Linked DNA regions of Homo sapiens: all the other regions are linked to region 1. The links are contacts of gene promoters, found by promoter capture Hi-C in blood cells and fetal thymus (Javierre and others, 2016). All regions are on one chromosome and are shown on one strand. Each heading gives the region's core, a stretch centred on a gene start or on the middle of the fragment in contact. The rest is flanking DNA. Distances are from core to core; before and after follow the strand shown. Region 1 holds the start of ZNF683 (zinc finger protein 683). Region 2 has its middle 16 kb from the start of FAM110D. Region 3 holds the start of LOC124903882 (a long non-coding RNA gene). Region 4 overlaps CATSPER4 (cation channel sperm associated 4).

Region 1 (3,809 bases), core at 92-2,591:
GGGCAACAAAGCAAGACCTCATCTCTACAAAAAATACAAAACTTAGCTGGGCATGGTGACTTGCACCTCTGGTCCCAGCTACTCAGGAGGCTGAGGCAGGAGGATCACTTGAGCCCAGGAATATAAGGCTGCAGTGAACTAGGATATTGCCACTGCACTCTAGCCTGGGTGACAGAGAAAGACCCTGTCTCTTTAAAAAAAAAAAAAATAGACATAGCAAAATGGGTGTAAGGCATGACTAGGCCAGGTGTGGTGGCTCACATCTGTAATCCCAGCACTTTGGGAGGCTGAGGTGGGCCAACTGCTTGAGCCCAGGAGTTCAAGACCAGCATGAGCAACATGGTGAAACACCATCTCTACAAAAAATACAAAAATTAGCCAGGCATGGTAGCGCATGCCTGTTGTTCCAGCTACTCAGGAGGCTGAGGTGGGAGGATCACTTGAGCCAGGGAGGTCGAGACTGCAGTGAGCTGAGATCATGCCACTGCACTCCAGCCTGGGTGACAGAGCGAGACCCTGTCTTAAAAAAAGTTAATAAATAAGGAAAAGACATGTCTAGATACAAAAAGGGAGACCTCATAGGCCAGAAAGTGGCTTTTTAGCCTGAGCAATGTCATTATTCTTGTGAGCATGAGAAGAGGCATCACCCCTGCGGCCTTACACAAATTCTGGTGTGCGTGAGTCTGGCCCAGGGTGCAAAAGCCCCAACCAGCCATCAATCTGCACCCCAGCCACGCCACCCTGGTGTCCCAGAATATACAGGGACATCTCAGGCTGTGCACCATGGGCTGGGGCATGTTCCTGGGGTTTCTCTGCCAGCTCAGCCCCTAGGGCTGTGACTCATCCTCCACATAACTGATCCCAACATGTTTGTGAGCATCTCAAGGACAGGGTCCTCTGTCTACTCATTTTGGTTTTCCATGTAGACATCTGTCAGGTTTTTTTGGACGCCCAGCCTCTGAAACTTTTCCCCTACATGAGTCTTGAGGGAGGCAAAAGGTACCTCCCATTATAAAAGCCGAAATGGCCAAATACTTAATTCCAACCTCCCTCACCAGCACTTCATGCAGGCATACATGGACTAGGTCGATCAGATGTCCCCACCCAGAAGGGGTGACCCGCACACCTTTGGCTTCCATCTGCCAGCTCTGCCCTCTCCTGGCATCACACTCTGCTCCCAACTCTCAGAACACCTTGCACAACTTCTCTGTTAGAAAAAAATAAAAACTACTTCCCCTCTATCCGCACTTCCCAACCTACTCTGGTGATCATGGGCTTTCCTTGGCTTGGGTCTCTGGTCTGGGTCAAGGCATCTGCTCAGGTTCCTCAGTTAGAAGACCATGGTCCTCCCTTTGTGCTACCTCCCCAGGGCATGTGGGACAAAGTGACATCACATTTAGGCCTGTGACATCACAGGGCATGGAGGCTGACAAGACAGATGATCTGGGAGACGAGAGCAAGGAAGGGCTTGGCAGGCAGAGGCTGCTCCATGTGGGAACCTGAGGGAGTCTGTCTTAGCCCACCTCCTGGGACATTTCCTTGCCAAGCCGAGTCTTGTGAGCATGAGAAGAGGCATAACCCCTGTGGCCTCACACAAATTCTGGTGTGCGTGAGTCTGGCCCAGGGTACAAAAGCCCCAAGCAGCCATTAATCTCCACTGCAGCCCAGTAGACTAGCAGATCAGAAGCTAGTGCCACTGGCTGAGCGCAGTGGCTCACGCCTGTAATCCCAGGACTTTGGGAGGCCGAGGCGGGCAGATCACTTGAGGTCAGGAGTTCAAGACCAGCCTGGCCAACATGGTGGGACCCCATCTCTACAAAAATACAAAAATTAGCCAAGTGTGGTGGCACGTGCCTGTATTTCCAGCTACTTGGGAGACTGAGGCAGGAGAATTGCTTGAACCCGGGAGGCGGAGGTTGCAGTGAGCTGAGATGGCTCTGCTACACTCCAGGCTGGGCAACAGAGTGAGGCTCCATCTCAAAATAAAATAAAATACAATAAAAAAAGCCACTGGTCCTGAGGTGGCAGGTCTGTGGAAACTCCTCTCTACAACAAAGGCTGTGGTACCACATCCGGCTTCCAGGGCAGTGAAGGAAAGAAGGGGGTTCAGGGGAGGCTGCAGAATCTGTGCAGGGCTGGTCCTGGGGTGTGATATTTGGCCATGGTCCTGTCTACTTCCAGCCTCCCTTGATCCATCCTATTCTCCAAGCCTTGCTCTCCAGCCTTCTCAGACCTCCTGCGAGCTTTTCTAACATCTTTTAAACAAATTCCTTCTGCTTAACTCCTCCTGAAATGGTTTTTGTAGCTTACAACTGATAATTCTGCATTATACATGCCCAGAATAGAAGATAAAGTAACAGGGTTCCAGCTGGAATTGTCCAAGGAACAGAGTAAATAGCCACCTTTACAAACAGCTTTCTTGCTGTGTCTGGCACTGTGCTAGGGGCTTCATAAACTTTATCTCATTTAGTCTTCACAATAAGCCTGTGTGGTGGATTTTATTATTAGCAGCTCATCCAGAGTCACACAACAAGTAGCCAAGAGCTCTTTAGTGGTAAACCTCAGACTCTGCCATCTCTTGGCCATGTCAGCTTCCCCCACTACGACAGCCACCCCCTCATTTCTTTCTTTCTTGCTCTCTCTTCCCACATGCTGTTCCCAGTCCTTCCCCCAACTCCTCAGTGGCCCCCTCAGTATCCTTCAGCGTAATGGAGGGGCTTAGTTCACCAAAACTCTACTCCCTAAAAGGAAGAGCCCTCTCAGACCCCCAGGCCACAAGCCCGCCTCCCCTGCTGTCTTGCTGGGAATCACAGGGAAGTGAGGGGCACCGAGTGAAGTTTCCTCCCCTCCAAGGCACTTCCCCACACACCTTTGGCTTCCATCTGCCAGCTGTGCTCCCTCCTGGCATCACACTCTGCTCCCAGCTCTCAGAACACTTTGCACAACCTCTCTGTTAGAAAAAAATAAAAAAGGAAATGGCCTTGGAGATTTCCAGGTCTCCAATCCTGAAAGCTCCCTGGCTTGGCTAGGAAATGCCCCAGGAGGTGGGCTGAGGACAGACTCCCTCAGGTTCCCACGTGGAGAAGCCTCTGCCTGCCAAGCCCTTCCTTGCTGTCATCTCCCAGATCATCTGTCTTGTGTCATCCATGCCCTGTGATGTCACAGGCCTAAATGTGATGTCACTTTGTCCCACATGCCCTGGGGAGGTAGCACAGAGGGAGGACCATGGTCTTCTAACTGAGGAACCTGAGCAGATGCCTTGACCCAGACCAGAGACCCAAGCCAAGGAAAGCCCATGATCACCAGAGTGGGTTTGGGAAGTGCGGACAGAGGGGGAGTAGGGAGCTGACTCCAGGTGCAAGGGGCACATTCGGGAGGCCTCTGAAGAGGAGGTGCCTCCACATTAGGGGACAAGAGCTGGAGGGGCTGGGTCCTTGGGCTCCCGGTGCTCACTGCACACTTTCTTCTTCCTTTCGTTAGTTGCAAAATAATACATACTAGTGGTAAACATTTCAAACAACAGAAAATGTAAAAACGAAAAATGGAAGCTCCTCCTCCTTCGCAATTTCCCAGTGGTCAATGTGAATTGTTTAGTGTTTACCCTTCCAGACATTTTTCTATGAACCAACAAACAGGTAAATTGATTTTTTTAATTGCTTTTTTTTTTCCTAAGGAATGAAGTGACTTATTGAAAATGAAAGTACACTCTGCAGTGTGGGAGCAGGCCTGAGCATAGGGGCTCAAAGGCCCCATTACAGAGTTTTTGAGAGTTTAAATACCTTCTGCTTGTGGTACGCCCTATGTAAATG
Region 2 (4,010 bases), core at 192-2,691, 230 kb before region 1:
AACGAGACTGTCTGAAAAAAAAAAAGAAAGAAAGATAAAAAAAAAAGACAGGCAGAAAAATCTGAATTTGTGATCAAAGCTAAAAAATGAACGTGTCTTTTTGTTCAGCTTTTCTGCGCTGTAATATACAGCGGTCTTTATTGTAGGATCCATGGATAGATCTCAGAGAATCCCAAACCTCCTGAAGTTTTAGTGTCCTTGTATCAATGCACGTATTTCTGGGAAGATAGTCTAGAGTTTTTATCAGATTCTTAATGGCGGGGGGCAGTTCCTGTCCTCCAAGGGCTAAGAACATTGGAGTATGAATACCAATGGCTGAAGGCTCTGTTGAGCCACTTAGCTTTACTCTTGAAACTTGGAGCCAGGCCAGGCGCGGTGGCTCACCTTGTAATCCCAGCACTTTGGAAGGCCGAGGTGGGCGGATCACGAGGTCAGGAGATGGAGACCACGGTGAAACCCCATCTCTACTAAAAATACAAAAAATTAGCTGGGCGTGGTGGCGGGTGCCTGTAGTCCCAGCTACTCGGAGAGGCTGAGGCAGGAGAATGGCATGAACCCGGGAGGCGGAGCTTGCAGTGAGCCGAGATCGTGCCACTGCACTCCAGCCTGGGCGACAGAGCGAGACTCCGTCTCAAAAAAAAAAAAAAAAAAAAACTTGGAGCCTATGTTTCTTCATCTGTAAAACAGGAATAATAATATCTACCTTCATGAGTTGCAAAAATTAAATTATGTTATTATTATAAATCATAATATGCACAAGCCATACTGTATGAAACTCAAATTAAAATGTGCAAAGACTATAAAATATCATAAAACAAATGTGAGTTATGACAATGAAATCTGTGTTTTAATATTTTCCCAGTAGCCGGGTGTGATGGTTCATGCCTGTAATCCCAGCACTTTGGAAGGCCGAGGCGGGCGGATCACCTGAGGTCAGGAGTTCAAGACCAGCCTGGTCAACATGGTGAAACTCAGTCTCTACTAAAAATACAAAAATTAGCCAGGTGTGGTGGCAGGCGCCTGTAATCACAGCTACTTGGGAGACTGCGGCAGGAGAATCGCTTGAACCCGGGAGGCAGAGGTTGCAGTGAGCCGAGATCGTGCCACTGCACTGCAACCTGGGGGACAAGAGTGAGACTTCGTCTCAAAAAAAAGAAAAAAATTTCCCAGTAATATGATGAATTAGATACCCGAGTGATCCTTCTGATGATAAAAAACTAAATTATTGTATAAAGTTTTTAATTTTTTTTATTATGTTGCTGAGCTGCATGAAAGTAAGAAATAAGCCCCAAAATGAAGTGAAACCAGGAACTATGGAAAAAGGAAAGTAAATACCAACATCGTGTTTAACCCTCAGGATGCCTGCCAAACCCCAGAGACCTTAACATCCTCCTTTCATGTTTGCATAGGATACCTGGGGGACAGGAGATAAATCCCAAGGCTTCTCCAAAATGGGAACTCTTAATAGGAGACCCCGGAGGGTCATAACTACAGTGTAAGAGCTAAGGTAAAATAAATCGGCTGGGCGTGGTGGCTCACGCTTGTAATCCCCGCACTTTGGGAGGCTGAGGCAGGCAGATTGCTTGAGCTTACAAGTTGGAGACCAGCCCGGGCAACATGATGAAACTCCTTCTCTCCAAAAACTATAAAAAATTAGCTGGGTGTGATGGCGTGTGTCCACCAGGAGGCTGAGGTGGGAGGATGGTTTGAGCCCAGGAGGCAGAGGTTGCAGTGCGCTAAGATCATGCCACTGCACTCCAGCCTGGGCAATAGAGCCAGACTTTGTCTCAGAAAATAAATAAATAAATAAATAAATAAATAAACCATAGCGCTCAGATGGGAGGTCCAATGAAATCTTCCTATATCAACTCTGGCCCTGGAAAGAGAAGAAAATAAAATCACCTTTAAGAATTCATAGCTTTTGGCTAGGCGCGGTGTCTCAAGCCTGCAATCCCAGTACTTTGGGAGGCCGAGGCGGGCGGATCATGAAGTCAGGAGATCAAGACCATCCTGGGTAACATAGCGAAACCCTGTCACTACTGAAAAAAAAACAAAAATTAGCTGGGTGTGGTGGCATGTGCCTGTAATCCCAGCTACTCGGGAGGCTGAGGCAAGAGAATCGCTTGAACCCGGGAGGCGGAGGTTGCGGTGAGCTGAGATTGTGTCACTGCACTCCAGCCTGGTGACAAAGCTAGACTCTGTCTCAAAAAAAAAAAAAAAAAAGAATTCATAACTTTTGGCTGGATGCAGTGGCTCATGCCTATAATCCCAGCACTTTGGGAGGCTGAGGCAGACGGATCACCTGAGTTCAGGAGTTCAAGACCAGCCTGGCCAACATGGTGAAACCCCACCTCTACCAAAAATACAAAAATTAGCCGGGAGTGATGGTGCACACCTGTAGTCCCAGCTACTTGGGAGGCTGAGGCAGGAGAATCGCTTGAACTCGGGAGGCAGAGTTTGCAGTGAACTGAGCTCACACCACTGCACTCCAGCCTGGGTGACAGAGCAAGACTCCATCTCAAAAAAAAAAAAAAAAAAAAAACTTCATAACTTTCCAAGAAACAAAGAGTTCATAACTTTCAAGCCAGCTCTCTCATGAAATCCCAAGTCAAATCATATTACTATGTAATCCTAAAATCCTCAGAGAATTTAAAATTTAAAGTGATATGAGTTGGTAGTACTAGCACATTATTGACAGAAATCATTTCAAATTGTCTCTGAAGAAACTCAACTTCAACACAAGTCTAAAATAATTCCCACAGATTTCCAAACAACATGAGCAGCTAGTGACAAAAAATAACTGAACACAAGATAATAAGGGACCATGAGAAAGAACAAGCAGGATTGGGAGGCGGTGGAAACAGACCTTCAAAGATATTGAAATTATCAGACAGAATAAAAGATAATCTTGCTTAATATGTTTAAGGAAATAGGCCAGGCATGTGGCTCACACCTGTAATCCTAGCACTTGGGCGGTTGAGGCGGGCAGATCATTTGAGCTCTGGAGTTCCAGACCAGCCTGGGCAACATGGCAAAACTCCGTCTCTACAACACATACAAAAATTAGCCGGGCATCATGGCACCCACCGGTAGTCTCAGCTACTTGGGGACCTGAGGCAGGAGGATAGCTTGGGCCCAAGAGGTGGAGGCTGCAGTGAGCCGAGATCACACCACTGCACTGTAGCCTACGTGACAAAGTGAGACCCTGTCTCATTAAAAAAAAAAAGAAAAGAAGGACAGAAAGAAAGAAAGGACTTGATACTATGTGTTAGCAAGTAAATTTCCAAAAGAACCAAATACAATTTCTGAAAATGAAAAAATTATGCTAACTGAAATGGAAAACTCAGTAAACAGACTCATCATTAGGTTAGAATTGTTGAGATAACCATTAAAAAAACCAGACCTAGAACCAATAACCTCCAAACTAACAGTGGGGAAAAAAATCAATGTTTAAAAAAGTGTTTTTTAGGCTGGGTACGGTGGCTCACACCTGTAATCCCAGCACTTTGGGAGGCCGAGGTGGGAGGATCACTTGAGGTCAGGAGTTTGAGACCAGCCAGGCCAACATGGTGAAACCCCGTATCTACTAAAAATACAAAAATTAGCCGGGCATGGTGGCACATGCCTGTAATCCCAGCTACTTGGGAGGCTGAGGCAGGAGAATCGCTTGAACCCAAGAGTCAGAGGTTGCAGTGAGCCGAAATCACGCCACTACACTCCAGCTTGGGCAACAAGAGTGAGACACCATCTTAAAAAAAAAGTAGTTTTTTTTTTAAGAGAAAGGGAAAGTACAGCAAATAGAATGTACATTACAAATGAGTGAAATAAATAAAAATATAGCAATATCTACAAGTGGGCTAAATTCTCCAAAGATAAAGGATGTCAGACTAAATAAAAGAATAAAATCCACTATTAATATGTTCTGTTTACAAAGACAAATCTAAAATATCAGGACATAGATTGGCAAAGTTTAGAAAAAGAAATACTTGGCAAAAAAAAATGAGGATGAA
Region 3 (4,039 bases), core at 915-3,414, 150 kb before region 1:
ATGATAAAACTAAAAAACAAAGACACAACATTTCAGAGTGCTATATATATGCTATATATTGGACATTCATTATATTTAGTAGCTAATAATATCTAATACTGACATAGCATTGACTCTATGCCAGACACAGTTTGAATCACTTCACATATATTAACTCATTTAAGCCTCACAACACACTCTATGAGATAGTTATATTTTCTTTTCTTCTTTTTTTTGAGATGGAGTCTCGCTCTGTCACCCAGGCTGGAGTGAAGTGGCACGATCTCGGCTCACTGCCACCTCTGCCTCCCAGGTTCAAGCAATTCTCCTGTCTCAGCCTCCGGAGTAGCTGGGACTACAGGCACCGGCCATCACACCTGGCTAATTTTTGTATTTTTAGTAGATATGGGGTTTCACCATATTGGCCAGGCTGGTCTCAAACTTTTGACCTCAGGTGATCCACCCGCCTCAGCCTCCCAAAGTGCTGGGATTACAGGCGTGAGCCACCGCGCCCGGCCGAGATAGTTATATTTTCATTCCCACTTTATAGAGAAACTGAGGCTCAGTTCACACAATAAGTTGCAGATCTTGCTAAGTGTTGGGAACACAGAGACAGTAAATTCAAGTTCGTCCTCAACGTTCTTGGGAAGGAGTTGGGTCTCCTGACTTCTAGGTCATATTTTAGTAACAAGGCTTCACAGAGCACAGGGAATCATTTATTACCTTATTTATTCCTCCAAACAACCCTATGAAGTATTATTTCCCCCACTGTACAGCTGACAGAACAAGAGAAGACTCTGAGTTTAGGGGACTTCAACCAGGACACACCATCAGTCTCCAGAGTCCAGGCTCTGAAACACACCACGGCCAAACCTGTCCTCGCCTGTCATTCCTCCCTTGTCAGGAGGATATAGAACCCAGTGATTAAGGGTGTGGGCGGGCGCTGGGGCCAGGCTGCTCCCTGCAGAACCTTGGGCAACGCTCTTTGAACCTCAGTTTGAGCCTCAGTTTCCTCATCTTTAAAAAAGGGGTGGTGGGGGGCAAAAGTATTGTCTTCTTCACGGGTTCGGTGAGGATGAAATGAAACAATCCATGTAAAGTTCTCAGCATGAAACCAGCATCTGCACCTATACAAGCAAACGTAAAAAGTGGGCAACGGTGCTCGGTGTTCATCCATCGGCACCGCGGGCCCCTGACGCTGCCTCTCCCCACAGCTGCCCCGTCAGCAACCGGCTGCTCCAGGGCCTGCGGGCCAACGGGGCCTCTCTGGAGGTGACCTTGGCCTTCAACCTGATCCGCTTCTCGACCAGCGATACACTGTACCTGCACGGCCGAGTGACCCTGTGTGACACGCGGGCAAGACGCCCATGCCAACCAGTGAGTGGGCAGCCCCGGGACCTCCTGCGCAGCCGCCGCAGCCTTGCCTGCAAAGCAGTTCCTGCCGGGCAGGCTGGGTAGCCGGACTCCCAGCTGCGCCGTCTTCACGGAAGCGGTGCTGATGCGGGACCTGGGGGACTGCGGTGCTGGGGACTGGCCAGTCCTACCGGGGGCGGGGCTTGTGGAAGACTGGGCGGGATTTTGAAGACCTAGGTCTTGTGGATGGTGAACTCACTTGGGGCGGGGAGGGAGGTGGGGCTACCCTGGGGTCTTGGGCAAAGTCCTCGCCTGGCCGGCTTCGCTACCCTTGTGCTTGCGTTGCCCACAAGCTTGTAGTCAGAAGAACTCGCCTGGGAGGGATCGCTCCTGGGAGATCCGAACGCGGGAGGGCCTGGAGCGCGGCGGCAGCTGGATAGCATTCGGGCCCATCCGAATAAGCGGTAAATGGATCATTTCTGGGGCCTCCCTGACTCCTCTTCCAGAGCCTCCTACCGACCTGCTCTGTCCCCTCCTTCCTTCATGCCCTCCACTCTTCCCTAAATGCAAGTCTCCTCCCCAAGCCCATGTCCTCCTCGGCTTCCCCTCTGCTCTCCTCACCGGTCTCACTCAGTCAACTTCAAGTCTGAGCCTTCTCTGCCTGTCTCCTTCCATTCTCACCTTTCCTGTCACACCAGATCACTCTTCTCCCAGGCTGTCCCTCGTGCCAAACTTTTTTGGTAAATCTTCCTTAATGATCTAGAAACAGTCTCTCCCTTCTTTCTATTCCATAATGGTCCTTCAAAACCCCAACCCTCGCCGGGCGCGGTGGCTCACGCCTGTAATCCCAGCACTTTGGAAGGCCGAGGTGGGCGGATCATAAGGTCAGGAGATCGAGACCATCCTGGCTAACAAGGTGAAACACTATCTCTACTAAAAATACAGGAAAAAAAAAAAATTAGCCGGGCGTGGGGGCGGGCCCCTGTAGTCCCAGGTACTCGGGAGGCTGAGGCAGGAGAATGGCGTGAACCCGGGAGGCGGAGCTTGCAATGAGCCAAGATCTTGCCACTGCACTCCAGCCTGGGCGACAGAGCAAGACTCCGTCTCAAAAAGCAAAAACAAACAAAACAAAACAAAACAAAAACTCCAACCCTCTTGGGAAAGCCCATCTTCTACTAAGTCCATTCTTATTAGAGGCAGGAGGTCCATCATCACACCCTTCTGAATCTCAGTTTCAAAGAGACCAAGCCCTTTGCCCAGTCTTGATAAAATAATGGGAGAATGCTAGCCTTGTCCTGCCAGAATGGCACCTTAAGCTTGATCTCTCTTTCTATGTGGTTTCATAGTCCAATGCCTCCAGCAGCAGAAGCTCGGCAGGTTGGTACAAAGATATTGCTGTGATGAAGTTCTGATGGTTGCACCAGGGTCTGAGGATACACGCTGCTGGGTCTTGGCAGGTGCTGGTTTTGGATTTTGTTTCTGCTCCACTCTATACGAGCTGAGAGAAGTCAGTTAACCTTTTTTTTTTTCTTTCTTTTTTTTTTTTTTTTTTTTGAGACAGAGTCTCACTCTGATGCCCAGGCTGGAGTGCAGTGGCGTGATCTCAGCTCACTGCAACCTCTGCCCCCCGGGTTCAAGCCATTCTCCTGCCTCAGCCTCCCGAGTATCTGGGATTACAGGCACGCACCACCATGCCCAGCTAATTTTTGTACTTTAGTAGAGGGAGGGTTTCACCATGTTGGCCTGGCTGGTCTCGAACTCCTGACCCCAGACGATCTGCCTGCCTCAGCCTCCCAAAATGCTGGGATTATAGGTGTGAGCCATCATGCCCGGCAGTTAACTTATTTGAGTCTCAGCTTCTTGGGTCTCAACAGTACATGGCACTTGTCATTGTGGGGCTGGTGGTTTATCCTTCATCAGAACCTGAGTCTATCCAGAAATGATTGAAAATTCAAGATACAGGGGCAAGCAGGTAGGAGGTGAAAATTCAAGATACAGGCCAGGCAGTGGCTCACACTTGTAATCCCAGCATTTTGCGAGACCAAAGTGGGAGGAGTGGTTGGGGCCAGGAGTTTGACACCAGCCTGGACAACACAGCAAGATGCTGTCTCTATAAAAAATTTAAAAATTAGCTGGGCATCATGGCACATGCTTGTAATCCTAGCTACTTGAGAGGCTGAGGCAGAAGGATCGCTTGAGACCAGGAGTTTGAGGGTGCAGTGAACTATGATGGCGCCACCACACTCCAGCCTGGGAGACAGAGTGAGACCCTGTCTCTAAAAGAAAAAAGAAAATTCAAGATACAGAGCCAGACAGGTAACAAGGACAGGTGAAGGTGGCTGAGTAGGGTCCACACTGAACTAGACAGTGCCTTTCATCCCCATCCTCCCCACCCCCAATTTAACTTACACACAGTCAGTCCCAAGAAAGCTTGTTGAATGAATGAATGGATTTCTAAATAATTCCCTAAAGGGGAATATCTAAGCCTAAAAACTTTCCCCTGCTCTCAATGCCACTTAATTCTGTTTTATAATCATTTCTTTCTTTCCTGCAGGAGCCTGGATGGCCATCTTTCTTCTGATAGCAATAAGCTGGATGCTGGGATAGAAGCCTGATACCTCCTCCAACCCTAGTCCTTGGCCTCTAGTTTACTCGCCTGAGGCAAGGGTAGAGTGGAGGAAGATTTAGGGAAAGCAAGTAGTCCGTT
Region 4 (2,538 bases), core at 39-2,538, 170 kb before region 1:
CTTAGGGACCAGCCATGTATCTGTAAGGGTCTTTGCTGTGTGTCTCTGAGACTGCATTTGGCTATTGACACATGTATGGGACAGAGAGTACACGTGTGTTTTGTGGCTTGTTTGGGGGGCGGCAGGGTAACAGCAGTGGATGGCAGCTGACTGGCCCTGCTCTGAGAGGGACATTGAGCCCTCATCCCTGGGATGTGGGGAGGGCAGACCTAGGATGCCCCCATGGGCTGGGCCTGACAGACCCCACTGGGGCTGGCCCACTCCCCAGGACGGCTGGAACATCCTCAACTTCATTATCGTCTTTATCTTGCTCTTGCGGTTCTTCATTAATGAAATCAATATTCCCTCCATCAACTACACTCTCAGGTGAGCGGGGAGCTCTGGAGAAATGAGGGGGACCTATCTGGAACCCAGGAATGAGATGGGGGGATAACGACCAGCTGGAGATCAGCTTTGCCTCTCTGGGCAGCTGGTGGGGGTAATGAGGAGGGAAGGGGCTGGGAAGGGCCTAGGGGCACCCCTGACAGGCTCTGCCACAGGGCGCTTCGTCTGGTGCATGTGTGCATGGCGGTGGAGCCCCTCGCCCGGATCATCCGCGTCATCCTGCAGTCGGTGCCTGACATGGCCAATATCATGGTCCTCATCCTCTTCTTCATGCTGGTCAGTGCCTGCCCCCGCCCCCAGCTGTTTCCCTTCCCTGAACAGGGCCCTTGGGTCATTGCAAATAGAGGGGTGTCTGGAAAAGCAGAGAGGCCTGTGGGCCTGAATCCCTGTGATTTCCTCAGCAGCGTTCATTTACATGACATTTGTGTGTCCTATTTCCAGGCCCTTTGGTGAAGTCGGGGTGGGGCTCTTTTCTCTCTGACAGGTTTTTTCCGTGTTTGGAGTAACACTCTTTGGTGCATTCGTGCCCAAGCATTTCCAGAACATACAGGTTGCGCTGTACACCCTCTTCATCTGCATCACCCAGGACGGCTGGGTGGACATCTACAGTGACTTCCAGTGAGTGCCAGTGGGACTTCCAGCCTCATCCCACCTATGGGGCAGGGTAGCCGGTGGAGCTCCAGGCTGAGAGTGGGAGCTCCAGGGATTGGGATGAGGATGGCCCAGTAGAAGTGGGGGTTCCCAGGTCTTTAAACAGAGGAAAAGGAAATACCTGGACTTGTGATACCTGAAGCCTTGTCACCCTTGAATCTCCATATATTCAGAGTCCCATTCCCACCCTGTAATGGGGACCTCTCCCATCATGCTAACCAGCTGGGTAGTTGGCCTTGGATAAGGCAGCAGGTCTGCAGTTATGCCTCAGGTTACAGAGCAACCTCCCAGCCCACCTTGGAGCCCACCAAACTGCCTGAACTCCTGGGAACTTCAGGTCTCATTTCATTCATTCTTAAACCCACTGCCCACATTCATTTTTGTGTTCTGTTCTTTACCTCTTTTCTATTAAGTCTAAGCCCTATTTCTTTCCAGTTTATTCCAGAAAGTGGGACCCCTTAACTGATTTCTTTTTATCTTCTACATGTGAGTATAGAAGCCCAGTAGATAAAGGGCTTCTACAGTCATTCTCCATTATGGCATAGGTAGTGGATAAAAATCAGGCTGGCCGGGGCCGGGCGCGGTGGCTCACGCCTGTAATCCCAGCACCTTGGGAGGCCGAGGTGGGCAGCTCACGAGGTCAGATCAAGGCTATCCTGGCTAACACAGTGAAACCCCATCTCTACTAAAAATACAAAAACAAAGCCCAGTGCAGTGGCTCACACCTGTAATCCCAGCACTTTGGGAGGCTGAGGCAGGTGGATCACAAGGTCAGGAGTTCAAGACCAGCCTGGCCAAAAAGGTGAAACCCCGTCTCTACTAAATATACAAAAATTAGCCGGACGGTGGGGCGCCTGTAATCCCAGCTACTCAGGAGGCTAAGGCAGGAGAATCGCTTGAACCTGGGAGGCGGAGGTTGCGGTGAACCCATATCACGCCACTGCACTCCAGCTTAGGTGACAGAGTGAGACTCTGTCTCAAAAAAAAAAAAAAAAAATTAGCCAGGCGTGGTGGCAAGCACCTGTAGTCTCAGCTACTTGGGAGGCTGAGGCGGGAGAACGACATGAACCCAGGAGGTGGAGCTTGCAGTGAGCCGAGATCACGCCACTTCACTCCAGTCTGGGCAACACAGCGAGACTCCATCTCAAAAAAAAAAAAAGGAGTGTAGCTAATAGATTAAACTTAATAGTGTTGATGTGCACGTCCCCACCTTGCAGGGTTGGTTAGAGAATCAGCTCACTGTCTGGCAGCACAGTAGGTGCTTAGTAGAGAGCAGCTATTGAGACAGGAGTAGGGAATGGGATCTGCACAACAGCAGTGACACAGGCAGAAGTTCTAGTAGGCCTTGGGATGATTTTCCCATTTCAATGACAAGGAAACTCAGGCTTGAAGGGCCAGGGAAATGATGGGGCCCCTGCCTGCCATCTGCAGGACAGAGAAGAGGGAATATGCAATGGAGATTGGGGGTGCCATCTACTTTACCATCTTCATCACCATCGGTGC

The links. Contacts are between HindIII fragments. The CHiCAGO score rates a contact against its expected background, and 5 or more counts as called.
Region 2: a fragment that was not itself captured here is called in contact with the fragment with the promoter of ZNF683 in region 1 in 3 of 17 cell types (naive B cells, M2 macrophages and M0 macrophages); the score reaches 7.8 in naive B cells.
Region 3: a contact is called between a fragment that was not itself captured here and the fragment with the promoter of ZNF683 in region 1, in 2 of 17 cell types (M0 macrophages and M1 macrophages). The highest score is 5.4, in M0 macrophages.
Region 4: a fragment that was not itself captured here is called in contact with the fragment with the promoter of ZNF683 in region 1 in 3 of 17 cell types (M0 macrophages, M2 macrophages and monocytes); the score reaches 6.3 in M0 macrophages.

Annotation. Positions count from the first base shown.
Region 1 is chr1:26,371,409-26,375,217 of GRCh38, forward strand. ZNF683 (zinc finger protein 683) reads right to left here and starts at 1,342. Exons shown (of 6, transcript NM_001114759.3): 1 at 1,261-1,342. The HindIII fragment of the contact is 11,410 bases long and covers 1-3,809 here.
Region 2 is chr1:26,140,677-26,144,686 of GRCh38, forward strand. No RefSeq gene overlaps it. Among named protein-coding and RNA genes, the nearest start is that of FAM110D, 16 kb to the right of the region's middle. The HindIII fragment of the contact is 6,302 bases long and covers 1-4,010 here.
Region 3 is chr1:26,223,908-26,227,946 of GRCh38, forward strand. LOC124903882 (a long non-coding RNA gene) reads right to left here and starts at 1,390. Exons shown (of 2, transcript XR_007065556.1): 1 at 1,303-1,390; 2 at 692-1,106. It also overlaps the pseudogene ZPLD2P. RefSeq lists enhancers at 739-1,244, 1,245-1,749, 1,256-1,315. The HindIII fragment of the contact is 963 bases long and covers 1,684-2,646 here.
Region 4 is chr1:26,197,418-26,199,955 of GRCh38, forward strand. CATSPER4 (cation channel sperm associated 4) reads left to right here. Exons shown (of 10, transcript NM_198137.2): 4 at 269-366; 5 at 540-660; 6 at 869-1,002; 7 at 2,467-2,538. Among named protein-coding and RNA genes, the nearest start is that of CATSPER4, 8.1 kb to the left of the region's middle. RefSeq lists an enhancer at 555-1,054. The HindIII fragment of the contact is 8,937 bases long and covers 1-2,538 here.